Regions from separate parts of the Homo sapiens genome. Here region 2 is linked to region 1. The links are contacts of gene promoters, found by promoter capture Hi-C in human tissues and cell types (Jung and others, 2019). All regions are on one chromosome and are shown on one strand. Each heading gives the region's core, a stretch centred on a gene start or on the middle of the fragment in contact. The rest is flanking DNA. Distances are from core to core; before and after follow the strand shown.

Region 1 (6,803 bases), core at 2,617-5,116:
ATGCCAGGCTAATTTCTTTATTTTTTCTAGAGACAGGGTCTTGCTATGTTTCTCAGGCTGGTCTCAAACTCCTGGGCTCAAGTAATCCATCCACCTCGGCCTTTCAAAGTGCTGAGATTACAGGCGTGAGCCACTGCACCCAGCCCCATGTTTTTACTTGGTAACTGACTCTCCTGAAAGCAGGATTGGATGGAGGGAGGGAAGAGAAAGCAGAGCATACTAGACACCTACAAGGGACAATTAGGGAAGAGAACCAAAGAGAGGAGCTGAGAGGAGTAGGGCAGAAAGCACTGAAGAGGGAGGTAAGAAGATAGTAGGCCTCTGGTGGACACTCATCCACAAAGAGCCGAGTGTCTAGAGTGACCAGCATCACACATGTCTGTGGCTCAGCCTGGGGCTGGGACCAGTACTGGTCAGTAACCAGGTCAGGGACCCAGCCTGGGTAAGGGGTCTTGTATAGGGGTGGAATTGGTGTTCAACCTGTGGCCAAGGTTGGAGGACTAGGGCTTGGCTTGTGGCTGGAATTGCAACTTAGTCTGTATTGGGATTAGGGCTCAATCTATGGCTGGAAATAGAACCAAAGAGAGAATACTTTTTGTTTGAATAGCCTGAGGAGCAAACTGTTACCTGTGTTCACAGGCCCTTGGCATTCTTCAGGGCTCCGACACCTCAGGAGCCTGATACCACACAGACTTGAACATTTCCATCCGTTAGCACTGTTTCTGAAAGCACCTAAGATATCACCAGATTTCTGACCCACAACAGGCTTGAGATCTCACTTAAACTAAGATGAGGACCTTTGTAAGAGACCTTCAAATAGCATCTTGGCAAATGACTATAGGATCCTTTCTAGATTCATAGGCTGTCAGCACCAAACAAAATGAGGCTCAGATAAAGAAGTGGTCTGTCCCAACTCACACAGCCAATAAGTGACAAATCAGGGTCCAGGACCCAGGTCTGTTCTGTTTTTTGTTGTTGTTGTTGTTGTTGTTTTTTAAGAGATGAGGTCTCACCATGTTCCCCAGGCTAGCCTTGAACTCCTGAGCTCAAGGGTTCCTCTCCCTCTCAGCCTCCCAAGTAGCTGGTGACTGGAACTACAGGTGTGTACCACTGTGCCTGGCTTTTGTTCTTTTCTTTAATAAATTTGCTGTGTGACCTTGGGCAAGTCACTCTTCTCTTCTGGGCTTCAATTTAACTCTAAGTATAGGTATATTGATGGGTAGAAGCAGATGGTTTTTGATAGTTTCACCAGCTCTAACATCCAGGAATCTTAACATTCTCCAATGAGTGCCAGTCCACCTCACCCTAATGAGTTGGCTCCAAGTCTTTTTCTCACATGTCTGGAGATCTGTATTTACAAGGCTGTAGGGAAGATGGAATACTGGCAGGACCTGCTGAGAGGTACAGAGCTGAAGGCCAGGGAGGCACAGACGAGGGAGATCAGAGTGGATCAAGTCACCGGGGAGAGTTTGCTTGAAGAGGTGTGACCTAGGCAAGGCCATGAAAGGCTGACAAGATATGGGAAGCAAAGAAGCAGGGTGTGGGTAGGATAACAGTCTGGTTCTAGGACATCTTTCCAAGATGCATCAAGGGCAATGATATCTGGAGAAAAAATTGCAGGGACTAAGAACAAGGTGTCAAGTGGATGGGAGGCAGGCATGGAGGGCATCCTGTGCAAAGTCTCTTTTAAGAAATAGGAGGCAGGTGTTAGGAGGAAACCCTCAGGGTTCAAGAAAGCGGAAGAGACATTTATTAAGTACACAGCATTGTGCTGGGCACTTTAATCCGTTACCTCCTTTAATCCTCCCAAGAACCCTGCAAGTTCTGGATTAGTATCTCTCTTAGACAGATTAGGAAATTGAGGCTCAGAGAAGTTATGACTTACAAAAAGTCACACAGCTCTAAGGGGCACGGCCAGGATTTGAATACAACACTGAGCTAATTCCATTACTTGTTCTATGTAATGGAAAGACTTATGTGAGTCTCATGCTGCTGGCAGGCCAGAGACACTCAGCCTGCTCTCATGAGCAGAAACAAGACCGTAACAAAGTCCAGCACTACCAGCTCCAGAATGTCACGTGCAAAAGAAAGGCATAGATGGAGGAGCTGAGCTGGGGAGAGGAAAGAGCACCAGACTAGGAGTTGGGAACGCAGGGTCTTAATCCCAGGCTGTGCCATGTATGTCCTGGAGAAACCCACTGCTTGAATGAAGCTCCTTTCTTCTGATTAAGAGAATGTGGTTTGGTTTTCCATCCTCACAGCATTCTAAGAGATTGGCTGGGCATGGGGAGGGGGGACCACCAGCCTATTGTGGGCGCAGTGAGGAAACTGAGGCTCAGATTGATGATGTAACCTGTTTGATGTTACACTGTATCTATGTGGAAAAGCATAATTGGGAACTGATTTTTTTTGGAAGCTATCAAGCACCAGTCTTGTGCTAGCTGCTTTACCTCTTTTCTCTAATTTAATCCTATCAACTCTCCTAGGATTTTTACTTCCGCTTTATAGATTAGGAAACCCAGGGTCAGAGAGGTGCACTCTGTGACGGCCTCCCAGCAGCTGGCATTCAGCGGGGCTGGGATGGTGAAGACGCTGGTCTATCTCACTGTGCCCTGCCGCCTCCCAGAGTCTCACACTGCAAATTCAGGGTTCCTTCTAGACAATGTGAGGCAGGGAATAAAGCATGGGATCTGGAACTAGAGTTCTGGCTTTGGATGGCTTACCCGCTCTGTAAGTTTTAGCAAGTTCCTCCTTGCTCAGCCTAAGTTTTCTCATCTGTAAAGTGCGAATGATAATACCCACCTCACTGGAGAGTTGCGAGGATCAAAAGAGAGAAAAGAATGGGAAGGTTATCCTAATTACCTCTCATTTCTGTCCAATGGCTCTTTCCAAAGGCAAAAAGCCTTTTCTTCTCCATCACACTCCTTACCTGTAGCCAGACATACCCGACTCCCTCCTAGGAACAGTAAGTCCTCCCCCAACCCAAAACACAGTGCCCTGCCCTCTCCCCCCGCTGCCCTTGGTGCCCCTCCTCAGGTCCCTGGCAGCAGCCCTCTCTCAGTTCTGAGTTGTGCCGAGTTCCTCCGGTCCCCCGGCCCATACTGGTCCTCACGGAGTCTCCACCCCTCCGGCACAGGTGCTGCCTGGACGGCTGTCAGAAGAGCTTGGGGTCCAGGTCCTGGCGCTGTCCCTCACATTCCAGGGGCCGCATCCCTCCTCTGCCCACCCAGCCTCCCGGTCTACTTACGGGCTCGAGCGTGGGAGTCCAGGGGGAACCAGAGCAGCGCGAGTCCCAGCAAGGAGGAGAGGACCCTCACCTCGGGAACCATCCTTTCCCCAGGGTCAGGCCGCTGGTCCGGGAGCGGAGTCGGGAGGAAGGGAGACGAAAAGGACACGGAGGCACAGGGGCCACAGATCAACCCACAGACCCCAGGAGGTCTGCTGCTAGAGCGGGGTCGGAGAAGGGCCAGGAAGCAGCGGTGGGCAGGAAAGGAGGGCAGGAAGGGAGGTCTAAGGTGGGAAGAAGAGAAAGGTGGAAAGAGAACGCGGGGAAAGGAGGGAGAGATGGAGAGACGAAGGAAGGTCCAGCAGAAGGGAGAGGCGATCAAAGAAAGGGGGAAGGTGAGAGGGAGAGGAGGAGAAAGCAGGGAGAGGACCGGCGTCTGCCGAGCGCGCAGCGCCGGGCGAGGCGCGCGGGACCAGCGGGTGTTGCGGGCGCGCGGGCTAGAGGCGGCCGGCGCCCCCTGCTCGGTGGGCTCGGGGTCGGGCCGCGGGGGCCTGGGGCCCGGCGGGGCGGCGGTCCCAGCAGCGGCGGCGGCGCGGCGGCCGCGGAGGGAGGCTGAGCGCGGGCCGGCTGTGCTCGCCAAGGGCTTCAGGCGCCGCGCTCGGGCGCATTTGTACTTTGCCGCGGGAAGCAGGCAGCCCGGCCTGGCGCTGGCCTAGCGCTGGCGCCTCCTCTGGGGCACCGCGGGCTCGGTGGATTGGCCACCCGAGAAACAGGCCCACTTTTTCCCCTCCTCTCTTGTGCGGGTCTCCGGGACGGACGCTCCAGGCGCGGCGCCGAGTGGAGGCGAGGGGGCTGCGGAGGGGGAAGGGGCCACGCGGGCCACGGGGTTTAACCCCTGACTCCCCGCGACGCCAAGAATGCAGGAGGGCAGAGTTGAGGGAGACCTCAGGTGGAACTTTCAGGTGGGGAAGGCTGAGCTGTCGGGGCTGCGGGTACCGGGAAGGCTCAGGGTAAGGCGCTCGGCGGTGCGTGCCCGGAACTCCGCAGATGGATGGAATCAGAACACTGGCGTTCTTAATTCAGTTTGTGGTCTACAGCACGCCACCGGAGAGTCTGTTTTCCCAGCTTTAAAATGGGCATTTTAAGATCTTAAAATATCTCTACTATCTTCCCACGAGTGTTGCTAAGATGAAATAAGGTAATGAACGTCGAAACACTCACCCCACAAAGAGAAGGGGTCCTAATTCCAGGTGCCTACAATACCAGTGGCCCCTGTCCCCACTCCGTCTGCCCATGCGCCATTCTCAGGAAAGTCAGCCCATAGGGATCCTGTGCCTTCCCCTGGAGGTCTTCCTCTGCTCCCCGCTCCCACTCCCGAATCAAGGCAAGATCTCTCCTTTGCCTTTGCAGGTGAGGCCTGCACTTCTCTGGGAGTGATGGTCACCTTCAGTCATCTTTAGGGAGAGCTGATTGTCAAAGAGTTTTCTTTCCCACCAGAAGGGGAGCTCCCTGAGGACAGGGCCCTGACACCCTCCAGCCCTCAAATGGTGCTCCATCTCTTGTGTTGAATGAACACATGCACTAATAGGACACTAAGAAGAGAATAGCCAGCTCTGGCCAGACCAGAAACACACAAGCTCTGAAATCAAAAGGGCAGAGTCACTGTCCTGGCTCCATCCGTAACTTGTTGGGCCACTTTGAGTAAATACATCTATCCTTGCTTTGGACCTCAACTTTCTGCCCAGCTTCTCTTGAAGAGCTAATGGAGACTCCAAAGAGTGCCAGAGGAGTATGAGGTGGGAAGGGATGTTGAGCCATATCCCACTCTGGTAGGGAATCATATTTCCGGGTTTAAACACTTGGCTGGCTGGCTGTAAAGGTATCTTTCTGGGCCAAGGCTGGGCTCCCCATTGCACTGTGCTTTCAGGGTATTACCCCCAAGATCTCCACCCTCCAAAAGAGAGCAGTAGGAGGAACCAGTGATCCCCAAACTGGCCCTTCCTAGGGCTCTCAGGATCAGGGACAAACATGATCTGTCCAGTGCCCTTCAGGCTTAATTTCTACTCTAATCTGGCCAGTCTCTTCCTTTCCCCTGAGTATTCTTTATTTTAACAGATAGTGCAAGCTTATGCATGTCACCATGCTTCCCTTTTTGCCTTTGCTTCCAGGGATCTCAGAGTTAAATCCTGTGCTGCTTAATTGCATAAACAATCTCATCCCAAGGGTTTGGGACAGTGATCTTTTCCTTTCTCTTTGTTTAAAATGTGCTGTGCACATATATTCATGTCTTAGATGTAAGAAGTGGATTAAGATGGGTTCCCCTACATCCTGCCCATCATACTTCAAAAAAGGCCTCCACCATCTCAGCCCTCCTGTCCATCCCTATTATCCCCAGAGTTGAGGCCAACTTCATTCCTTTTTTTTTTTTTTTTGAGATGGAGTTTTGCGCTTGTCGCCCAGGCTGGAGTGCAGTGGCGTGATCTGGGCTCACTGCAACCTCTGCCTCTGGGTTCAAGCGATTCTTCTGCCTCAGCCTCCCGAGTAGCTGGGATTACAGGCATGCACCACCTATAATTTTTGTATTTTTAGTAGAGATGGGGTTTCGCCATGTTGGCCAAGCTGGTCTTGAACTCCTGACCTCAGCTGATCCACTCACCTCAGCCTCCCAAAGTGCTGGGATTACAAGCATGAGCCACCGCACCCGGCCATCTTCATTCCTTACTTGAACTTTCCCAACAGCCTCTTACCAGGTCTCCTCCCCCTAATCTGGATCTCTCCTATCTATTTTCCTCACACCTGCCTTGAGAACTATGCTGATCATTTCTACTGACAAATCTGATCACATCACTTTCCCACATAAAACCTATTATTCACTTCCTATCATTTATAGGTTAAAATCTAAAATTTTCAGCACTGAATTGAACACCACGCATATTTTAGTTCCAATCTACCATTGCCACCTACCCTACACTTTGGCCAACCGCTCACCTCCCCAAACTGACCATGCGTCGTCGCACCTCCATATCCTCACACATGTTTTCCTTCTGCCTGGACTCTCTCTTCCTCCATCTAGTGAATCCCATTTAACTTTCCAAAGGTCAGTTGAGTCACCTCCACTCCAAGGTCTTCCCTGAGTCCCCCAGGCAAAGTCAATGTTTAGTCTTTGTGTTTCCCATAGCACTTTGAATTGTAGCTGTTGGAGTGTAAGTATTTATTTGCATTTTTACCCTGCACTGTGAGTGCAGGTGCCTTTTGAAATTTATATCTGTAATTCGAGCATTTAGCAAAGTCCTTGACACACAGATACTGAATAAATAATTGCTACATGAATGAGTGAAGACCTCAGTGATTGGAAAAGCCTTCAGCCCACTATTGGCCTCAGCTTTAGTCAATGATTGACATAAGAAACAAACACTTGAAAGTTTCTGTGTCAGGCCGGGCCCAGTGGCTCACACCTGTAATCCCAGCACTTTGGGAGGCTGAGGTGGGAAGATGGCTTGAGCCTAGGAGTTTAAGACCAGCCTGGGCAACAAAGTGAGACCCCCCCCCAACTTCGTCTCTACAAAAAGTAAAAAAG
Region 2 (6,803 bases), core at 1,730-4,229, 80 kb before region 1:
TCACAGAGGTCTTTGCTAAGTAGTTTAGACCTTGCACTATAGGCAATAGGAAGCCACTGAATTTTAACATGTCAGATTCGTACATTAGAAAGATCAGCTTTAGTAGCCTAAAGGTATAAAGTAGATCATAAGTAACAGCCAAATTGAACCTGTATCTTGAGTTAGAACAAGCAGAGGAAAATAATTTGAAGTTAGATCTAGTTTTGTTTTAGGCAGATGACTCCTTTGATCCCCTTGGAAACTCAGGAGAGGAGAGTATTAGGAGTGACTTCAAATGTGGAATGATTAGCCTTTTGCTAGGTCGTCTCATGCTTGGAAATTCTCTGGCTCTTGCCTGAGCCATGGTCCTAGTTAAACCATGGAGATGGGATTGGTTCCACGGTTTCACCAAGGATTCATGTAGGCCATTCTCTGACGCACATACACACACTGATTCAGACCTGGAACTGACTGCATCTCCCTGGAATTCTTTGGGTCAAAAATGACCCATAGTCCTAGACTGATCAACTAAATTCATCCCAAATCTTACTAACACCTATTCTATGCCAGATGCTTTCATATACTTTATATCATTTGATCCGTAACAACTTTGTGAGGTGTAGGTATCAGCCCAATTTGATGAATTAGGAAATTCAATGGTAGAAAGGCTGTCCAGCTAGTACATGGTAGAGCTGGGATTTGAGAGGCAGACAGAGTATCCTATTGTCATCCATTCTTAGTGTAAGTTTTTTCCAGTGGCGTGGAGTGTTGTAAACATTCTTGCATATCATAAGTGACATTCATATTAGACATTGAATGACCATTATACTTAGAAATGTACCAATGATTTAATTCTTTTCTAGCAGTAAGTTTTGCTGTGAACTCCAAAGCTCACCCCTAAAATACAGCAACAGCTATCCTGAAGCTCCTGCATGAAACCCCCCACTCTATCTTAGAATTGTGCATAGTTCATAATACATGTTATATGTCTTCCCAGCCTGTACACTTTAGAAGCAGCAAAGCAGCAAGAGACAGTTGCTTTTTGGCCACGTGCGGTGGTTCATGCCTGTAATCCCAGCACTTTGGGAGACCGAGGCAGGTAGATCACTTGAGGCCAGGAGTTCGAGACCAGCCTGGCCAACATGGTGAAACCCCATCTTTATTTATTTGAGAGAGAGAGAGAGATACTTACATTTTGGAAAGTACTCTGGCTGCAGTTGGAGAGCAGACTGGCTCACTTTTTGATGTTGTAGAAAGTCCTTGGACTTTAGAGTCAGGCAAACTGGAGTTCATGCCCTTTTACTATCAGCGTGACTCCCAGAAAGTCACCAAATTTCTCTGAGCCTCAGTCTGCTCATCTGTAAGATGAAGCTTGTATCTACCTCAAGGTTATTGTGAGGATTAGAGATAACAAATATAAAGTGCCCAGTTTATAGTGGTTGGGTTTTTATTGTTTCAGAGTAATGCTTTGGACTTTAATCTTACCTGTGTGAGAAAAATGAGTTGTCGTACTTTGCTAATTTTTTTGCCAACTAACCTTTATTGGAGTGCCTACTTTGTGCTGTAGACAGCACATCAGACTGTCAAAACTGAGGTTCTAACAAAGTGAGGAGGGAGGGCTAATGGACCCAGTGTTTCCTTGCAGTTCTGCTCACCTGTCAAATTCCTGACTCCCCTTTGTCCCACCAGCACCCCTACCTTTCAGGTGGGCTGCGTGTCATTCTGTGTGCTACACAACACACCCTTGTTTCAACCATATTTCTACTTGAAGTCGTTTAGAGGAAAGCCAAAGGTCTGAGTATGCATTCTATTTCCTCAAGTACAGACATCAGAGAATGCTGTTTATTAATGAAAAAATAAACAGATCTTTGGCAGCAAAGAAGCCTCTCCCAATGATGTATGGGGTGCTTGGGCTATAGTCACGCCTGCAGTTTGAGCCCATCTGTTTTCTCTGTTCACCTCCTGAGCACTGTCCCCTTGTGGTTTGCATCATTCCTTAAGACCAGCCAACTCCAACCCTCCTCAGTCCACTCATTCAATAGCTGTCTTATTTAAACACACACACTCTCTCTCTTTGGGTGCCAGATGTGAAGTTTCAAGGCAGCAGAGGCTGGGCTGGCTAGTGCCATGACACCTGCTTTAGTAGGCAAGCCAGTCAGCTGCCGCTTCTGATGATGTTGGCTCTTCTTCATGGACAGCATGAGGGTTTCACCCCACCAAGTGCACACACAGGCAGCTGAGGGAGCCTCATAAATTATGGTTTTGTTTGTTTACTTCGGGCAGACAGTGTGGTGTAGTGGAAAGAGCCCTGCACTTGGACGCAGAAAGCACGGGTTTGAGTGCTTGGTGGTTATGTGCTTTCTGTCTACAGAGCACCTCTTCATGGCACTTATCACTATCTCTGCTAATTGTGTATCTGTTTATCTGCTTATTGGCTATCTCCTCCACCACAATATAAGTTCTAGGAAGTCACGGACTGTCTATCATTCTATCTCCAGTACCTAGGACAGTGCCTAGAACATAGTAGGCTCTTAGAAAATATTTATTGAATGAATTAATGAATTATAAAACTGCCTCTTCTACTCACTGGCCATGTGATCCTGGGAAAGTCATTCTCTTCTCTGGGCTTCAGTTTTATCAACTTGGTTGAAAGCATTAGTTCTCTATCCCTGATGCTGTAAGAGTTTAAGAATTCATTCATTTAACAAATTACCTTGTGTCTCCATAGAGGGTACTGCCAAGCCCTAAAACTACACAGTCATGAACAAGGCAGAAACAGAACGTGCTCTCAAGGAGTTTTGAAAGAGAGAGACAACCAAATAAATAATTGCATGAACAATTATGTAATGACCATTGTGATAAGCCTTATAAAAGGATCTGTACAGGGCACTAGGAGAAAAACCACACAGGAGGGCCATGTTGGGGGTTGTCAGAGATTTCTTGGTGAAAGTGACATTTAAGTCAGACTTTACAGATAAGTAGTTGACCAGGCAAAGATGGTACAGTATTTCAGGGAGAGGGAAGAGCATTTGTGAAAGTCCAGGGTGGGCATGTGGCTGTAGCCTGGTGACCAACAGGGAGGTCATGCCAAGATCAGGCTAGAGAGGGAGGCTGGGCCAGATGGTTCAGAACCTTGTCGGCTATGGTAAGGATTCTGTCATATCTAAAGACAAAGGGAAGTCATTGAAAACAATTCCTGTCATTACAAAGGCTTTACTAGTACATACAGAGGGGAAAGCTGGACTCAGCCTTACATGGCTGTCAGAGGTAGATAGAGCAGATAGTACCTCCATTTTGTAGCTGAGGAAATAGGCCCCAGGGATGATAGGTAACTTACCAAGACCACTAGGCAAGTCAGTGGTAGAACTTGATCTCTAAAATTTTAGTCTACTTTTCTCAATACTATATCACATTACAAAGTTGAGAGGGTTTTCTTTCCCTTCACATACTCTAGATGGCCAAATTTTAGACCTAAATGCCTTGTAATAACAGCTCTCATCTGCAAATTGAATGTCTCGAAAGCAACTTTTAAGCAAGTCTGTTAGCAACAAATCCCTCCAGAGCATTATGCTTGCATTTTGGGTAACTACAACCATATCTTTGATGCCCATTTTAGATTATTGTTAGGATAGATTGTTAGGAATAGAATTACTGTGTCAAAGGATATACATTTTAAGAAACTTTTCATACATATTGCCAACTTGTCTTCCCAAAGGTTGCGTATCATCATCAGTATATGACAGTGACTTTCTCAGTGCTTCAAGTAATAGAGACCAACTCTAATTTAAGCAAAACTGAATAGAGCTTACTTTCTAATCATACATATTTTGTTCACTTAGAGATGGGAAACTCAACCAGGCTTTGGCAATTTGAATTGAGGAAGAAGATGAAGCTATAGAGATAGTGCCCAAAGGAGGCAGAAAACTCCCGAAGGCATTGTTCACTGTGAAGAGGCACACAACATAGACATTAAAGATAGGAAAGTGAAGGCAAACTCTATTGTATTCTACTAAAGGAAGAATCCTCAGCATTGTGACATTCTGCTAAAAGTAACTCCAACTTGGAAAAGCCCTTCCTCTGGCTTGCTACAAAACTAATTGGAGATCCTAACTTGGAGTTTGTTGCCATGCTTGCCCTTGCCCCACAAGAGGTTGTCATGGACCCAGCTTTGGCAGCACAATATATCATGATTTACAGGTTGTTCAAATGTTCTCCCGGATGAGAATGATGATCTGTAAGAAAATTAATCTGGAGCCCAGCATCAGAAGTATAGTTTTATAAGCATCTGTGCTGTGCTGTCAGTGGTGTAGCATGTTTGCCATTTTATTGTGTAGCTAAGCAGAACATGTGCTTTATCTTTGGGATGCTGAAGGAGATGAATGGACTTCAAAAATACCTTCAATTTTTGGACCTGCATATTTAGCTGTTTTTGTTGTTTCCTTCTGGAGTTTCATATATATTAGGTTGGTACAAAAGTAATGGCAGTTTTTGCCAAAGTATTGCAAAAACCACAGTAACTTTTGCACCAACCTAATACTTAACATCATAATATTCAGTGGTGAGGATCTTATTTTACTGCCATTCCCATTCCTTTTCATTTAGAAACAGAATAAAGTTGTATTTCAAATACCTAAGAGAGATACACACACACATAGTGTGGTCCATAACATAAGTAGAAATAAAATACTTGACAAAACTAGCACAAAGGATGAGGAGGGAGTATGGAAGTATAGTATACTCTTCTTCTTATGTTATACTTGAGGTGGTATATTATTTTTAAATTAATAACTTTTTAAACAACTTAACTGTTTTAAGTTAAATATGCGTATTGTAAACCTGAGAGCAACCACTGAAAACCACAATGTATAACTCCAAAGTATAGTTAATAAGCCAATAATGCAGATGAAATGGAATACTAAAATTACCAATGAATGTTAGAAAAGAAGGAAAAAAAGGACAAAGAATAGATGGGACAAATAGAAAGCAATAAAAAGACATTAGACTTAACCATATCAACATTAAATGTAAATGGAATGAACACTTCAATTAAAAGGCAGAAATTACCAGGCTAGATTTTTTTTTTACAAATGGATACAAATATGCTGTGTGCTAGTCTGTTCTTGCGTTGCTGTAAAGAAATACCTAAGACTGGGTAATTTACAAGGAAAGAGGTTTAATTGTCTCATGGTTCTGCAGGCTGTACAAGCATGGTGCCAGCATCAGCTTAGCTTCTGGGGAGGCCTCAGGGAGCTTTTACTCATGGCAGAAGGTAAAGCAGGAACAGGCATGTCACATGGCCAGAGCAGGAGCAAGAGAAAGAAGGGGAGGGGAGATGCCACACACTTTTGCTCAACCAGATCTCATGAGGACTTACTATTGGGAGGACAACACCAAACCATGAGTGATCCCCCCAGATGACTCAAACACCTCCCCTCAGCCCTGACTTCCAAGATGAGGGATCACATTTCAACATGAGGCTTTGAGGGGACAACATCCAAACTATATCATGCTGTTTACAGGAAAGCATGTTAAACATAAAGATGCAGATAGGTTAAAAGTAGTAGGACAGAAAAAGACCATGCGTACACAAATCATAAGAAACCTGGAGTGGCTATATTAATATCACATGAAGTAGACTTCAGAACAAGGAGTATTACCAGATGTAAAGAGACATAATAAGAGAGTTAATCAAGAAGATATAATACTCGTAAACGTGCACACAATAACATTAAATAAAACAGAACTAAAAACAAGTAGATAAATCTGTAATTTAGGGGAATATAGAATGATGAGCAGGACTTCTGGAATGACAGAGTAAGAAGCTCAGAAAATCCTCTTTAAAAAGAAATTGTCAAAAACAAAATTGATTAAAGGCTTACAACAAATTGAGAAGCATTTATTCGTGAAAAACTACTGACCCTCAAGTAAAAATAGTGGGAGTCTGTGGTGTTTTAACCTGGGGCTGCTTCCAACCCACCTTCTCTCCTCTGCTCCCCACCAGCTTGGTCACCATAGTAATTGTGCTACAAGGAAAGACAAATCACGAAAACCTGCAGCTTTGCTGTGGGAAGGAGCTCACTTGATTTGAAGCAGAATTTGAAAAACTGCATGCCCGGGGTATTGAAAGAAAAAATAGCAGTCTCAGTGACGAACTAACAAAAAGCAAGACAACAATTCAGCTAGCCTGAAGTTGAGGTCCTGGTTGGAGCAAGCAAGGGACCAGGGAGATAATGGGAATGAGAGCCATAGTGAGCTTCGATAAGCTGCCACATATCCCTAGCAAAGCACATGTGCAGGAGAGACCAAAGAGTGCCTTGGCTATCCACATACACCTGGTAGAACTTGAGGCCATGCACACAGGTAGAGGAAATGTGAGAGTGCCCAACAGAAAGGAAATGCCGAGGCAGACTTGTGAACTGCCTGAATTTTTATGCATTTCCCAACCCACATGTAGATGTGTGACATTGTGGAAAGTAGAAGTCTTACTGGCTCAAGGTATTTGAGCACAACCTCTGATCAATCATTAGCTGACCACTAAGCAACACTGACATGGGCGTAAGCCCTTGCAGCAAGGCTTAAAAATAAAGACAAGAATTTAAGAACGGAAATGAAACAAACGAGAGAGATCAATGGTCCCGCACCACAGACTCTATAGATTTAGTCTAGGCAAGTTACTAACAAAAGCAAAAACAACCCCTAGAGGGGAAATGTCAGATTTCATAATTGCTAGACTATATTATCTAAAATATCCAGTTTTCAACCAATACTATGAAATATTCAGAGAAACAGGAACATGTAACACATAATGGGGGGAAATAAAATGA

Evidence for each region. The method cuts DNA at HindIII sites, captures the fragments that hold promoters and counts their contacts. A contact is called where the count stands out against the background at its distance.
Region 2: a fragment that was not itself captured here is called in contact with the fragment with the promoter of CHRDL2 in region 1 in 2 of the 25 tissues and cell types used here (IMR-90 fibroblasts and bladder).

What each region holds. Positions count from the first base shown.
Region 1 is chr11:74,727,560-74,734,362 of GRCh38, forward strand. CHRDL2 (chordin like 2) reads right to left here and starts at 3,867. Exons shown (of 11, transcript NM_001278473.3): 1 at 3,248-3,867. The coding sequence starts at 3,329. The HindIII fragment of the contact is 7,141 bases long and covers 1-6,426 here.
Region 2 is chr11:74,648,703-74,655,505 of GRCh38, forward strand. It overlaps a transcript of POLD3 not described here and the pseudogene RANP3. Among named protein-coding and RNA genes, the nearest start is that of POLD3, 60 kb to the left of the region's middle. The HindIII fragment of the contact is 9,872 bases long and covers 1-6,803 here.